Linked DNA regions of Homo sapiens: regions 2, 3 and 4 are each linked to region 1. Evidence: promoter capture Hi-C in 16 types of primary human blood cells and fetal thymus (Javierre and others, 2016). All regions are on one chromosome and are shown on one strand. The core of a region is centred on a gene start or on the middle of the fragment in contact, and the rest is flanking DNA. Distances in the headings are between cores, read along the strand shown. Region 1 holds the start of GPR135 (G protein-coupled receptor 135). Region 2 has its middle 71 kb from the start of DAAM1. Region 3 overlaps LOC107984642 (a long non-coding RNA gene). Region 4 overlaps DAAM1 (dishevelled associated activator of morphogenesis 1).

Region 1 (3,584 bases), core at 482-2,981:
GTTGGCCGGTGGCTTAAGCTTATTTGGGCTGGGTTTCCTATCTTATATGTTGTTTCCTAAAACTAAGCACAATCTGAGAAGATTGTGTTTGCCAAATAAATTAATGTATGATAATTATATTTTTGCTTTGATTGACAAAATTAAGACAAAATCAGTCTAGATTAAGCTGGCATTGACTGCTCCCAAGAGGATATTTGGCAATATCTGAAGACAGTTTTAGTTGTCACAGCTGGGAGAGGTGCTACTGGCATCTCGTAGGTAGGAACTAGGGATGCTGCTGAACATCATACAATGTATAGATGGCCCCTGCAATAAAGAATTATCTGGCCCAAAAGTCCATGACGCTTAGGCTGACAAACCCAGTTTTGGTTTGCCACCTTAAACGTTCTTCTATTTATACTGTAAATTTCCTGTAGGATATTTTTTCTGAATGAAATAAGCACTCCAATACTAATACCATTGATTCTAAGATCTACAAATATACTAGTCATTCTTTAGAGCAGTGTTTCTCAAATTTGTGCATCAGAATCACTGGGAGGGCTTGTTAAAACATAGGTGCCTGGGCCCCACCACAGGAGTTTCAGTAGATCAGGGGTATCCTATGCACTGTAGGCCTGATAATTTGTATTTCTCAAGGTTTCCAGGGGATGTTGATGCTGCTGGTCCAATGTCCATACTCTGTGAACCACTGCTTTAGCGAAGAGCCCAGGGTTAGTTAACCTGAGGGTTTATCACACTTTTCCCCATTAGAGGCCATGCCCAGAAACTTGAGATGCAACTTCCCTGGGTAGCCCTGCCTTTCTTTTCCCCGTATCTCCCAGCCAGGTACCTGGAGCTGCATCTGTGGTGATTGCCAGGCTGGCAGCACCTTAGACTCAAAACATACCCCATTCCTGAGAACAGATGAAGGCTGCTAGCAGGGCAAGGCACCAATCCCTCTCCCCCCATTTATCAGCCAGTAGGGGCCTGAGGTCCAGGCCCTTGGAAATGAAGTAACATCTAAAGGAACTATCCTAGCTCCTCAGAGCACCTGTATCAGAATCACCTACGGGGTTTAGAGTCATGGGCCCATCCTTAGTAATTCTGTCAGCCTGGGAATCTGCATTTTATGAAACTCTTGACATCAGTGCTTCTGTAAGTGTGGTCCTGGGACCAGCATCATCATCACCACCCGCGAACCCGTTAGAGATACAAATTCTTGGGTACTTCCCCAGACATATTCGAAACGCTGGGGTTCAGACCTCGTCACTTGTATTTTAACACGCCCTCTATGTGAATTCTGTTAGCTCAAGTTTGAGAATTACTGGTTTAAATTAGTCTGCTTCTCAAGTTTAAGATGTCTGGATGTAGACTTCTGGATTTTTCTTTCACTTCACTTTCTAGATTCCTTTCCTACCTGTATATACCAAAAGCACCCACAGGAAGCAGAGTGCCCCCCCCACCACTCCCCAAAAGGCCTGCCTGTAGAACATTTGTACCCTACAAAAGAGAGCAAGAGTGAACTTTCGTTGAATCTGGTCATTTGTTTGCATGCCAGTCGGCACTTTATCTGGCCGGACATTGGTCCCTCAGGAGGTCGACCTGGCACTCTCGGAAACCCGAACACCCGGGCCGGTAACCTCCGGAGTGGCGGTGTCGCGGGTCGGCTTTGCAGCGGGTACTGGGCTGCCGTCCCGCCCCGCGCTCCTGCGTAAACACGCGGTTCCCTCGGCAACGCTGGAACCCACGTCAAAGGCTCCGCCAGGTCCCCAGCGACCGCCACCCCTCCGGCCGAGCCCAGCTCCCCGCGGCGGCCGCTAGCCCCCGGCCCCGAGCCACCACTCCGACCTAGCGGCCGCCGCCCCCGGTGCGGGATGAGGAGATCCGCGGCCGCCACTGGGCCCCATGGAGGAGCCGCAGCCGCCCCGCCCACCAGCGAGCATGGCCTTACTGGGCAGCCAGCACTCCGGCGCCCCCTCCGCGGCCGGCCCACCTGGCGGGACTTCCTCCGCGGCCACGGCGGCCGTGCTCTCCTTCAGCACCGTGGCGACCGCGGCGCTGGGGAACCTGAGCGACGCAAGCGGAGGCGGCACAGCTGCCGCTCCCGGTGGCGGCGGCCTTGGCGGGTCCGGGGCAGCGCGGGAGGCGGGGGCGGCGGTGAGGCGGCCGCTAGGCCCGGAGGCGGCGCCGCTGCTGTCGCACGGAGCTGCAGTGGCGGCCCAGGCGCTCGTCCTCCTGCTCATCTTCCTGCTGTCTAGCCTTGGCAACTGCGCGGTGATGGGGGTGATTGTGAAGCACCGGCAGCTCCGCACCGTCACCAACGCCTTCATCCTGTCGCTGTCCCTATCGGATCTGCTCACGGCGCTGCTCTGCCTGCCCGCCGCCTTCCTGGACCTCTTCACTCCGCCCGGGGGTTCGGCGCCTGCCGCCGCCGCGGGGCCCTGGCGCGGCTTCTGCGCCGCCAGCCGCTTCTTCAGCTCGTGCTTCGGCATCGTGTCCACGCTCAGCGTGGCGCTCATCTCGTTGGACCGTTACTGCGCTATCGTGCGGCCGCCGCGGGAGAAGATCGGCCGCCGCCGCGCGCTGCAGCTGCTGGCGGGCGCCTGGCTGACGGCCCTGGGCTTCTCCTTGCCCTGGGAGCTGCTCGGGGCGCCCCGGGAACTCGCGGCGGCGCAGAGCTTCCACGGCTGCCTCTACCGGACCTCCCCGGACCCCGCGCAGCTGGGCGCGGCCTTCAGCGTGGGGCTGGTGGTGGCCTGCTACCTGCTGCCCTTCCTGCTCATGTGCTTCTGCCACTACCACATCTGCAAGACGGTGCGCCTGTCGGACGTGCGCGTGCGGCCGGTGAACACCTACGCGCGCGTGCTGCGCTTCTTCAGCGAGGTGCGCACGGCCACCACCGTCCTCATCATGATCGTCTTCGTCATCTGCTGCTGGGGGCCCTACTGCTTCCTGGTGCTGCTGGCCGCCGCCCGGCAGGCCCAGACCATGCAGGCCCCCTCGCTCCTCAGCGTGGTGGCCGTCTGGCTGACCTGGGCCAATGGGGCCATCAACCCTGTCATCTACGCCATCCGCAATCCCAACATTTCGATGCTCCTAGGGCGCAACCGCGAGGAGGGCTACCGGACTAGGAATGTGGACGCTTTCCTGCCCAGCCAGGGCCCGGGTCTGCAAGCCAGAAGCCGCAGTCGCCTTCGAAACCGCTATGCCAACCGGCTGGGGGCCTGCAACAGGATGTCCTCTTCCAACCCGGCCAGCGGAGTGGCAGGGGACGTGGCCATGTGGGCCCGCAAAAATCCAGTTGTACTTTTCTGCCGAGAGGGACCACCAGAGCCGGTGACGGCAGTGACCAAACAGCCTAAATCCGAAGCTGGGGATACCAGCCTCTAAGACGGTTGGAATGGCCAGCTTATGAAGGCAAATTTCCACTCGCATTATTTAATGATGGAAGATTCTGGGGGAGAGTTGTGGATTTCATAAAGCCAAACATTTAAAGCTAGAGACGGGGGAGGCTTACCACTTTCCCCAAACAACATAAAAGACAATGTCCCTTCTTCAAAAGTGCCAAAAGGAATGTAAAATGCAAAAATTAAAACAATCTTAAA
Region 2 (3,584 bases), core at 656-3,155, 350 kb after region 1:
AGGGACCAGTTATGAAAAACCGTGTAAACTATTTTGACCATGACATCAACATAGGTTTCTAAGGTGGGGAGAATCAGGATCAGATTTATGTTTTTAAAAGATTGCTGTGATGGCAATGTTGTGACTAAGATTAGGCAAAAAGGGGGAATTGTCTGGGAAACAGCAGGAAGAGACTTCCAGTCCTTTAGTTGAGAGACAGTGAAGCCTTAACTAGGGCAATGGAAATGAGATCAGGGAGGGAAGGACAGGTTTGAAAGCTACTTCAGGAGGGAAAATAAGAAGAGTTTTATAAGAGAATTGGTTTAAGTGGTGAGTGAGGTCAGGTAGGAAAGATCATGAGGTTTCTGATTTTGGTGAGTGGCCAAATGGGGAAACCATAAAAAAGAAGAAATATGGAAAGAGGTACAGGCTTGAGGGACAAATAGGCCTGACATCACCATGGAGTGTCTAGTTGAAGATCAGAGGAAGATGGAAATGCAGGTCTGAAATTGAGACTAGAACTTCGGCTGACAATATATAGGTGTGGAAAACATTAGCAGTGGAAAACAGGAGGACGTCTGCTCAGCCAATGACCTAGGCTTCAGGAATTATGTCTTCCTAACCACAGCCTCCGCTGTAGAGGTGAGCCTTAGACAATGTTGTTCTACCATTATTTCAACATTCACTTGACAAGTACTTTTTGAGTCCTTATTGTGCCAGGCATAAGTGATTATATGGTGACCAAGATGGACAAGGTCCCTGCCTCCTGGAGCTCACATTCTAGTTCATGATACAGGTGGCAGGAACAACATATGCAGTGGGCCTTAAGCAGAAAGAACCTGACATGGTCTAGGAGCTTCATCATGAAATGAAGCTTGAGAGGTGGGCCAGGGCCAGATCATTTGGGGCCTTGTAGGTCATGCTAATGAGAATAGAGTTTTTCTAAGTCTCTGAGGATTTGCAAGCAGGACAGTATTGAAATGGGCTTTATCACATGTTCATCTCCACTTCTAACCACAGAGGGTTGGATTGGAAGTGGATTCCATTCTGTTAACAGAAAAGCAATTACTGAATTTACAAATTTAGAAAGGAGGCTATCTTATAAAGGGCTACAGCCTGCAAGGTGGCCATTCTGAAAGGCTGGGAAGCATAGCCTCTGGCCAAAGGCCAGAAACAGGCACTTCAAGGGAGGGAAAGATGAGACAGGAATTTATACCGAACAGGTTGGCCAAGTATACATATTCAATGGGTTATAGAGGAGCTATGAATATTCATGATGAGGGTCATCATACATATTCAGGTTGAGTAAACATGTATTTTACATACAACCCATGTTCACCCTGAGGTGGAGACTTAACATTTAAATGCATTACAATTAGGCCAGATATGTCCAAATGTGAAGCAGAGACAGGGAGGCACTCAAGTACACAGCCTGTAAAACCTGCCAGAGCCAGTCCATGGCTGGTGGTCTCTAATCAGGAGAAAGTTACAGAAATCAGTCTCTTGTTCAATCGAAGCTGTAGTTGTGGCTTGTGAAACAGGGAGTCAGTCAGCATCTGATGGTGGGTGAGCTGCAGTTATTTCAATATTGCTTATCTTGAGGTCAGTGCTTGTTTAGCTTCAGAGTAAGGAAAAACCTTGTGGCAGTTAGAACCTAGTTTACTCTTTAAGTGTAGGAGTGCATGACTTAACCCTTGCCTGGTGTGGCCTTAGGTCCTATTTAGAATTTGGTATCTTATTGCCATAAAGAGTCCATTCTGTCAGCCTTATTTTAACATTAATGCTGGCAAGTTGTTGGGTCTAAACTGCAAAAGGGAGAGGGTATGATGAGGCTTATCTGACCTCCTGACCCATCATGGCCAGGAACTCAGTTTTTAAGGTTTCTCTGGGGTTCCCTTGGACAACAGGGGGTCCATTCAGTGGGTTGGGGGGCTTAGGATTTTATTTTTAGTTCTCAATCCTTAGGCTAGCTGGTGATTTCTGACAAAGCCTAGTGCAAAAAGATTATCTGGACCAATCAAGACTTTTTTTTTCCCATCAGGAGTTTACACTGATAAACATTGAGTAAATGTGGCAATTAGTAGAGGTTGCTGAAACTGACAAGATGCTGCAAGATAGAGAAAGAACCATTATGGACTGTGTGCAAACTAAAGTTGTGAGAAAGCAGAAAGCATCATGCAGCACAAGTGATGTGGCACAGGAAGACAGAGCACGCCCCTGTTCTTTCATTCCTATGAGACACCTTTGTTCTTTATTGCCCATGTGTGTCATTAAAACAAACTCTTCCTTATTTGAATCATCTCTGTGAACCTCTCTTATAACTGAAAAGACTCAATTAAAACACCTAGGAAGAGTGGGTAAAGAGAGAAGGGGACAGAATTTACTGCTTTACCCTCTGTGACCCCGTGGATGAGTCATATTTTTATTGTAGCACTTAGAGGTTAGATTATACTTGTTTCTTTGTATGCTTCTCCCATGATTTGCATGACTTATTCATTTTGGTATCTACAGTACTGACCTTCATGCCTTGCACATTATTTGACACTCAAAAATGCTTATTGAGTTGAATTAAGCATGGAACCCTAAAATATTTTGAAGGTTGAACTAAGGAGGGAAAATAAGTACAAAGAGCAGTTTTAGAAGAAGGAATTACAGTAGCGGTACACGGGGAACCAAAATGGAGTGGCATCTGGAAAGACAAGGATGTGAGAGAATATCATAAGAAGGAGTGGTCAAAAGGACCAAATGCTGTAGAGAACTTAAAATAGCAAGGACTAAAAATGCCTATTGGATTTACCAATGGTTTTATCACAGAGATAGAAGGAAAGGTCATATTGCCATCTACTGAAAAAGTATAGTCAGCAGGGGTGGATGATATTTAATAATTTATCACAGCATATGCTGATCTTATTGATTTCCCCAAAATCGAATTACAGACTTCCATTTATATATAACTGCAAAACAAAGGATAAAGCTTTGGTCATTGAAAGGAGATGCATAATATTTTCTATAAATAAACAAATGAAATAAACATTAAAGATTCAATATGCTTAGGTTAATATACACGCTCATCAATTTTTTAGGTTTTATTTTTTAGAACAGTTTAACATTCAAAGCAAAATGAAGAGGAAGGTAGAGAGATTTCCTAATACCCCCTGCCTCACACATGCATAACTTTCCTCACTATCAACATCCCCTTCCAGAGTGGTACATTTATTACAATTGATGAACCTATACTGACATGTCATAGTCACTCAAAGTCCACAGTTTATATTAGGGCTCAATTTTGGTGTTGTATATACAGGTTTGGACAGTTAAGTAATGACATGTATCCACTGTTACACTATCATGGTGTAGATTAACTGCCCTAAACATACTCTGTGTGCTTCTCCTATTCATCTGTCCCTCCCCACTAGCCTCTGGCAACCATTGGTCTTTTTACTGCCTCCATAGTTTTATCTTTTACAGGATATCATATAGTTGAAATCATACAGTATGCAGCCTTTCAGATTGGCTTCTTTCGCTTAGTAACATGCATTTATGTTTCCTCTATGTCTTTTCAAGGCTTGATAGCTCATTTATTTTTAGTGTTGAATAATATTCCA
Region 3 (3,584 bases), core at 325-2,824, 280 kb after region 1:
CTGTTTTTTTGGTGGAACACTTTAACTGACATACTCACACTTTAGTTAAAGTTCTTTTAGGGGCAGACAACAAGAACTTTCTATGGCCAGTTTATGCAAAACAAAGAATGTAATGGGATTTATTCAAAGGATTAGACAACCAAGGCTCAAGACAAACAGGAACTGGACAAACTAGGAACCTAAGCAGTGGTAGTTTTCAGACCTCTCCAGAGCACTGGTCTACTAGCACTAAGACTCCGAGCTCTTTGTTCCAAATTTCAAATTCCTGAGAGAAGCTTATTGTCCTATGTCAGGCAACAGTCCCTGACTTAATTATCTTAAAGTACAATCCCCAGACCAGCAACATCAGTATCACCTGAGAACTTGTTAGATATGCAGATACTTGGGCCACACCTACACACCTACTGGAAAAGAAGCTTTAGGGATGGGTCCCACCACATGTGTCTTCACAAGTCCTCCAGCTGAGTCAGACACACTTGAATGTTTTTGAACCATGGATCTACAGCAAGCGTAACAAGATTGTGTGGCTCAAATATGATCACTCAGGACCTATCCCCGTGTGTCTGGGAGTCTTCTCAAAAAGGAGAAAGTGTGAATCTGGAAGCCACCCCAAGAGGTGTCAGTTAAAGCTGGTAAATCTATCAGGATCTTAATGGTAAAACTTGGTTCTTCCTGAGGGAGAGGACTTTGTAGCATTCTGAGCCAACTATTCAGTTTAGTCACTAAAAAGGCACTTGGAGGAGATTCATTTCACTGTGTTTAATTGAGAGCTCAGAAAAACTGAAAAAGCGGCATCGGAACAGAACAAGGGAGATGGAGTCATACAGAAACGTGAGAATGGCAACAATACTAAGGTTAGGCACAGTAAGTGGAGGGGTGAAAATACCTCCAGCCACCCAAAACTCTCTCCAGACCAGTCTTATTTGAACAGCTCCTCGGAGTTCAGAAAGAGAAACTCTCCTTTGACATATTTTAGCCGGTCTTCCTGTATAAGCTTCTTCGTAACTGGCTTACTCTTAGTCCATCTGTGAGACCTGTGCTGTTCAATTCTGTAGTCACTGGCCTCATGTGGCTATTTAAATTTCAATTAATTAAAATTGATGAAATTTTAAAACTCAATTACTCAGTCACAGTAGCCACATTTCAAGTGCTCAAGAGCTGTGTGAGGCCAGTGGCTACCATACAGGACATCACAGATACAGAGTATTCCCATTACTTCTTCAGAAAGTTCTGTTGGACAGCACTGCTACACATTTGTTCACTAATGACTGTTTAGATTCTTTCATGCTGAAATCCACCTTCTTTTCTTCTTCTTCCCCAAGTCAAATTCTGAAGAGAGAGAAAATGAAGAGACAAAGAGAAAGGATATATAATTGTTCTAGTTCACCAACTGAAGCTAGAACATATAATAAATCACTGGCCATCACGAAAAAGACAGCCCAACTAATGCTTAAATTCATTTGTCAGCAGGAAAATATAAATTAAGACTATAATGGGATACCACTACATACCCATCACATTGGTTAAAATTAAAAGGACCAACTATACTAAGCATTGCCAAAGATAAGAAACAAATCTTACACTGCTAGTGAAACTGTAAACTGGTAAAACTGCTTTGGAAAAATCTTTATTAGTATTTGCTAAGCATGAGCATACACATCCTTTATGGCTGAGCAATTTCACTGCTAGCAATATACCTAACAGAGTTGTGTATATGTGTTCACCAAAAGTTACCTATTCAAATGTTCATAGTTATGCTATTCATATATTCATACATGTATTCATATAGCCTAGGGTTGCCATACAATATTTGGGATATACTTACACTAAAAATATTTATTGTTTGTCTGAAATTCAAATTTAAGGAGACATTAGGTATTTTTATTTGCTAAATCTGGCAACTCCATGATAGCCCCAAACTAAAATCAACACAGTTGCTCATCAACGGTACAGTGGATAAATAGATTGTGGCATAGGCACATAATACTATATCGCAGGGGTTGGCAAACTTTTTTCTGTAAGGGGCCAGATAGTAAATATTTTAGGCTTTGAGGGCCATATGATCTCTGTTACAGTTACTCAGTGCTGCCATTGTAGCATGAAAGCAGTCGTAGACATAAAGGAATGAGTATGGCTGTGTTCCAATAAAGCTTTATTTACAAAACAGTCAGCTGGCCTGTAAGCCTGTAAGCCATAGTTTGCCAACCCGTGCTATCTGGCTATGAGAATTAACAAGCTATGTCTACGTGTGAAAATAGGAGGAACCGCACCAAAAAACACTGAGTAAAAAGAGTATATACTGTATGATTCCACTTATGTAACATTTTTTTAAAGAGGTAAAGCCATTGATAGTGTTAGAAGACAGAGTAACAGTTACCTTTAGGGGATAGTAATAGAAGAGAACATGAGAGGTCTCTGGGATGCTGGTATTTTTTATCTGGGTGCTGTTTATGTGGCTACTTTATTTTGTGAAAATTTATCATGCTGTACACTTAAGATTTGTGTCCACTTATGTATATACATATTAAAATAAAATATTTATATGAATTAAATACTAGGCCAAATTATCTCAAGATCATTCCCATAAGAAATTGTTTTATGTATTCTGGTACCCAAGTTTTTTAATATATTTTTCTAATTATAATGGTTATTCATGTCTTTTGTAAAGAATTTAGAAAATATTGCTACTTAAGGCCATAAAAATCACCCATGAGCCAACAAACGAGGGAGAAATATTAACATTTCTCCCTCCACTCCCCACCATCTTCCCTCTCATTGGATTTTTTTACATCATTAGCATTTTGAGTGCTATGTGATATTTTATTTTGGGAAGATAACCATTTGTTCTTGTTATTTATTTTTTATTTCATAATTATAAACTTAACTCTGTAATCCAGCTAGACTTAGAGAATAAGGAAAATATGGAACCCAAAGAATTGCAACAAGAGCACAAAGATAATGGACATTGCAAACAGATGGGATGGAGGGATACTCTCTTGAGCTACAGAAAGAACAGTGTGGTGGCTAAGATAAAACACAAGCCAAATTTATTAGAGTTGTCCACAGTTAGCAATGGCGATCTTCTTGTTGGTCTTGCCATTTCTGGACCCAAAGCACTCTGTGCCTTCCAAGATATTCCTTCTGTCTTTACCTTGCCAAAAAACCACATGCTTGCCATCCAACCACTCAGGCCCAGCTGTGCAGATGATAGACTGGAACTGTTGATGTTGGGTTCAGAATTTGCCATGGACAAGATGCCAGGACCTGTATGTGTCAGGATGAAGTTCTCATCCTCAAATTTCTCCCCGTAGATGGACTTGTGTCAGTACCACTATGGCATATGAAGTCACCACCCTGGCATAAAACCCCTGGAATAATTCTGTGAAAGCAGGAATACTTCTTTTCTCTCCAGTGGTCAAAGATCTAGGGGGTTAGGACTCCAGCATATGAATCAACATATGAATTGGGTGTGGGGGAATACAGTTCAACCCATAATAGTCAGAATACAAAAGTTGTCTGCTATCTCTGGAACCGTCTGCAAACAGCTCAAGGAAGGAGATGTGGCCCCAGGGCTCGCCATCCAC
Region 4 (3,584 bases), core at 810-3,309, 260 kb after region 1:
ATTGTAATATAATAATACTCATTGTAGGCAATGGTGAAGTGAAAAATGCTTTAATGCTCTTTCACTGTCAAGAGCGTCAATTTGCAAAACTTTGTTGTTGTTTTGGTTTTGGTTGGTTTTTTTGTTTGTTTGTTTTAGAGACAGGGTCTCATTCAGACCCTCGGGCTGGGGTGCACTGGCTGTATCATAGCTCACTGCAGCCTCAAATTCCTGGGCGCAAGCAATCCTCCCACCTCAGCCCACACACCCCAAGTAGCTGGGACTACAGGTGTGTACCACCATGCCCATCTACTTTTTTTCCTATTTTTTTTTTCTTTAATTTTTGTAGAGATGGGGGTCTCCCTATGTTGCCCAGGCTACTCTCAAACTCCTGGGCTCAAGTGATCCTCCTGCCTTGGCCTCCCAAAGTGTTGTAATTACAGGCATGAGTCACTGTGCCTGGCCCCTGCAAAATCTTCCTTGAGGATGATTTGGTCATATAGATGTTCCTTGACTTACAACAGGGTTACATCTTGATAAAGCCATTGTATGTTGATAACACTGTAAGTTGAAAATACATTTAATACACCAACCTGCTGAACACTATAGCTTAGCCTAGCCTACCTTAAACATGCTCAAAAACACTTACATTACCCTACAATTGGGCAAAATTACCTAACACAAAGCCTATTGTATAATAAAGTGTGGAATATCTCATGGAATTTATTAGATACTATATTGAAAATGAAAAATAGAATGGTTGTATGGGTATTCAAAGTACAATTTCTACTGAATGCATATTGGTTTCCCACAGTGGTAATATCAAAAAACTGCAAGTGGAACCATCGTAAGTCGGGGACCATCTTTCCTTTTAGAAAAACGAAAATTACGCACCTTTTGTTTCATTTATTTCTATGAATTTATCCTAAGAAAATAATCTAAAACATGGAAAAGATGTTCATAATTTTAATGGAAAAACAAAAATGGTTATCTTGTACTGTGAACTGAAGAATCATAAGGTTCATAAATTTGGAAAGGAGAGCTTTATTTCTCATAAAAGGTGCCATCCAGCAAGCACTTGGAGGGAGGAGTAAAGAGAACAGAAATGTATGCCAAGAGGGATGGTCAAATATAAGTATTTAACAGATTATAGGAGGAGTCCTGAATATTTATGAAAGGAGAAACATGCACATGCGCAACTAAGCTTCATGCCTGTATTGGGACTTTTTGTGTTATAAAGAAATATCTGAGGCTGGATAATTTATAAAGAAGAGAGGTTTAATTTGCTCATGGTTCTGCAGGCTGTACATGGATGGCAGCAACAGGGCTGGACTTCTGGTGAGGCCCAGGAAGCTTACAATCACAGCAGAAGGTGAAGAGGGAAGCCAGTACATCACATGGCCAGAGAAGGAGCAAGAGAAAGATAGGGGAAGGTCCTAAACTCTTTTAAACAACCATATCCTGCCTGAACTGAGCGAGAACCCACTCGTCACCAAGGGGATGGTGCTGAGCCATTCATGAGGGATCTACCCTCATGACCCAAACACCTCCCACCAGACCCCACATCTAACATTGGGGATTACATTTCGACATGAGATTTGGAGGGGACAAACATCCAAATGATATTGATGCCTATTCATGGGTCATATGTTCAAAAAACAGTGGCATTAGCATGATCTGAGGGTTGAGTTTTCAGCCCTCTGATGTCAAAAGGCAAAGCAGAGGACATGAAAACCCTCACTGGACCTCCTGAGAGAGTTGGACAAAACCTGCCTAGAGATGGTGGTCAGTTTTTAGGAAGGGATGCATGTGAAACTGGTGAGCTGCCACATCGAAACTGCAAAGATGGGGAGTCCGGCCATGGCCTCAGATGATTGGCTGAAAGCGATGAAGTTATGACTCATTCGTTTCTTGTTTTCTGGAGTTGGCTTCTGCTTACTCCTTAGGAAGGAATGCTGGTTAAAGGCTCATAAGGAAGGGGCATACTAAGATGTGTCAAATCTCCCATTCCATCATGGCCAGGAATTCAATTTTTAAGGTTTCTCTGGGAGTCCCCTTGGACAACAGGGTGTCTATTCGGTCAACTGGGAGGCTTAGGATTTTATTTTTATTTCTCAGTACCATGTATAAAATGAAAATAAATGCAGTCATCTAAGAGTTTTATTAAGAGTTTTAATTACATGAAAAATGCTTATGACAACATTTAATTGGGGGCAGAATGCAAAAGAGCGCAGGTAATGTATAATCAAAAGCATTTTTAAAACTTCATTAAGATTTTTATCTATTTCTATGTACTTTTCTGTGTTTTTTTCCCCACAGTGAACCTAAATTAATATTATAACCAAAAAATAAGTTTCTGACTTAATAGTTTCAGAATGGCCTTGAAAATTCCCCATGCTAGGCACGGCAAAATTTCTCAGAGAAGGGACTGCTGTCAGGAAAAAACCCAAGATTTAGAAGTGGGCAAAAGAGATTACTGGGTATCCTCTCAATGGAGTGTGATTTGTGGTCTAAGAGGCCCTCCAGGGATGATCTTTGACTTTTTTGTTTGTAATTAGGCCAGTGGTTCTCAAAATATGATCTGAGGAGTCCTGGAGAGCCAGAGGACTTTTCAGTGTGTTCGTGAGTTCAAAACTAATTTCATTGTAACACGAGGATGTTGTCATTTTCACTCTTACTCTCTCAACAAGCATAGAGTAGAATTTTTGAGGCGCTTTAATACCCACGATGAAGTCATCATTCACATAACATGAAATAGGTTTCATTATTGATATGTTTTAAATGAAATTAATAGTTTTAAAGCTTCTTAATTCTAATTTCTAACATGATAAATATATTACACAGTAAAATCTCTTTGGGATCTTCAATTTTTAATAGAGTCAAAGGGTCCTGAAATCGAAAAGTTTGAGAACCTGTTGGACTAGACTATCTCACAGCTCTGTAGAGGCAGAAACTCACTTGCCAAAAACACACAGTAATGTAATGCCTCTTGTCCATAGCAAAACAAATGAATTTTGTCTGGTAGTGATATAATTGCCTTACATGCCTATAGAAAAGATAAGCAAACATTGCATTTTACGGCCCTTGAAAATATTAACAAGTGCTGTATACACTAGCAAATTTATTTCAGCATTTCTGATTGTGGATAGATGACAGATACACAGGCAGACATATAGATACCTGTTCTTCAAATTCTCCTGTGAACGACCCTTAACATCTTACTGGTTCCCTCATTAATTAATGAATTAAAATTGTTGGCATGTGTTTATAATTTTGAGAATCTTATTTTTAAACTCTTTGAGAATTATTCTTTAGCACCAACTATCTACCAATAGATCAGTTCCTGCATACAGGCCACAACACTGATTAAAAATAAATTAATAATTAATCAAAATATGTTTTAAAACAAATGCAAGCTATGATAAATAAGTTTTACTAATTCAACAAAACAAACCCAGTCAAGACCCTACTTTAGTTCCTAAATCTACTAGAGTATTTTTTGCTAAATGTAGCTGAAGATAATACAAACTGATTTGTCAAAACTTCAGAAAAGTAGACTTGATTTCCAATATTTCTTACTACTTTCCTCCTCAAAATAGTTTGAT

Evidence for each region. Contacts are between HindIII fragments. The CHiCAGO score rates a contact against its expected background, and 5 or more counts as called.
Region 2: a contact is called between a fragment that was not itself captured here and the fragment with the promoter of GPR135 in region 1, in 7 of 17 cell types (megakaryocytes, monocytes, endothelial precursors and 4 more). The highest score is 7.8, in megakaryocytes.
Region 3: a contact is called between a fragment that was not itself captured here and the fragment with the promoter of GPR135 in region 1, in 8 of 17 cell types (total B cells, naive CD4 T cells, fetal thymus and 5 more). The highest score is 6.9, in total B cells.
Region 4: a fragment that was not itself captured here is called in contact with the fragment with the promoter of GPR135 in region 1 in 1 of 17 cell types (monocytes); the score reaches 5.1 in monocytes.

Annotation. Positions count from the first base shown.
Region 1 is chr14:59,463,527-59,467,110 of GRCh38, reverse strand. GPR135 (G protein-coupled receptor 135) reads left to right here and starts at 1,731. Exons shown (of 1, transcript NM_022571.6): 1 at 1,731-3,584. The coding sequence starts at 1,885. The coding sequence ends at 3,369. It also overlaps a transcript of L3HYPDH not described here. RefSeq lists a silencer at 1,661-2,200. The HindIII fragment of the contact is 8,985 bases long and covers 21-3,584 here.
Region 2 is chr14:59,115,948-59,119,531 of GRCh38, reverse strand. No RefSeq gene overlaps it. Among named protein-coding and RNA genes, the nearest start is that of DAAM1, 71 kb to the left of the region's middle. The HindIII fragment of the contact is 2,100 bases long and covers 856-2,955 here.
Region 3 is chr14:59,181,408-59,184,991 of GRCh38, reverse strand. LOC107984642 (a long non-coding RNA gene) reads right to left here. Exons shown (of 2, transcript XR_001750928.1): 2 at 745-1,329. It also overlaps the pseudogene PPIAP5. Among named protein-coding and RNA genes, the nearest start is that of DAAM1, 5.5 kb to the left of the region's middle. The HindIII fragment of the contact is 1,156 bases long and covers 997-2,152 here.
Region 4 is chr14:59,206,695-59,210,278 of GRCh38, reverse strand. The region is part of intron 1 of DAAM1 (dishevelled associated activator of morphogenesis 1); the gene reads right to left. Among named protein-coding and RNA genes, the nearest start is that of DAAM1, 20 kb to the right of the region's middle. The HindIII fragment of the contact is 1,449 bases long and covers 1,335-2,783 here.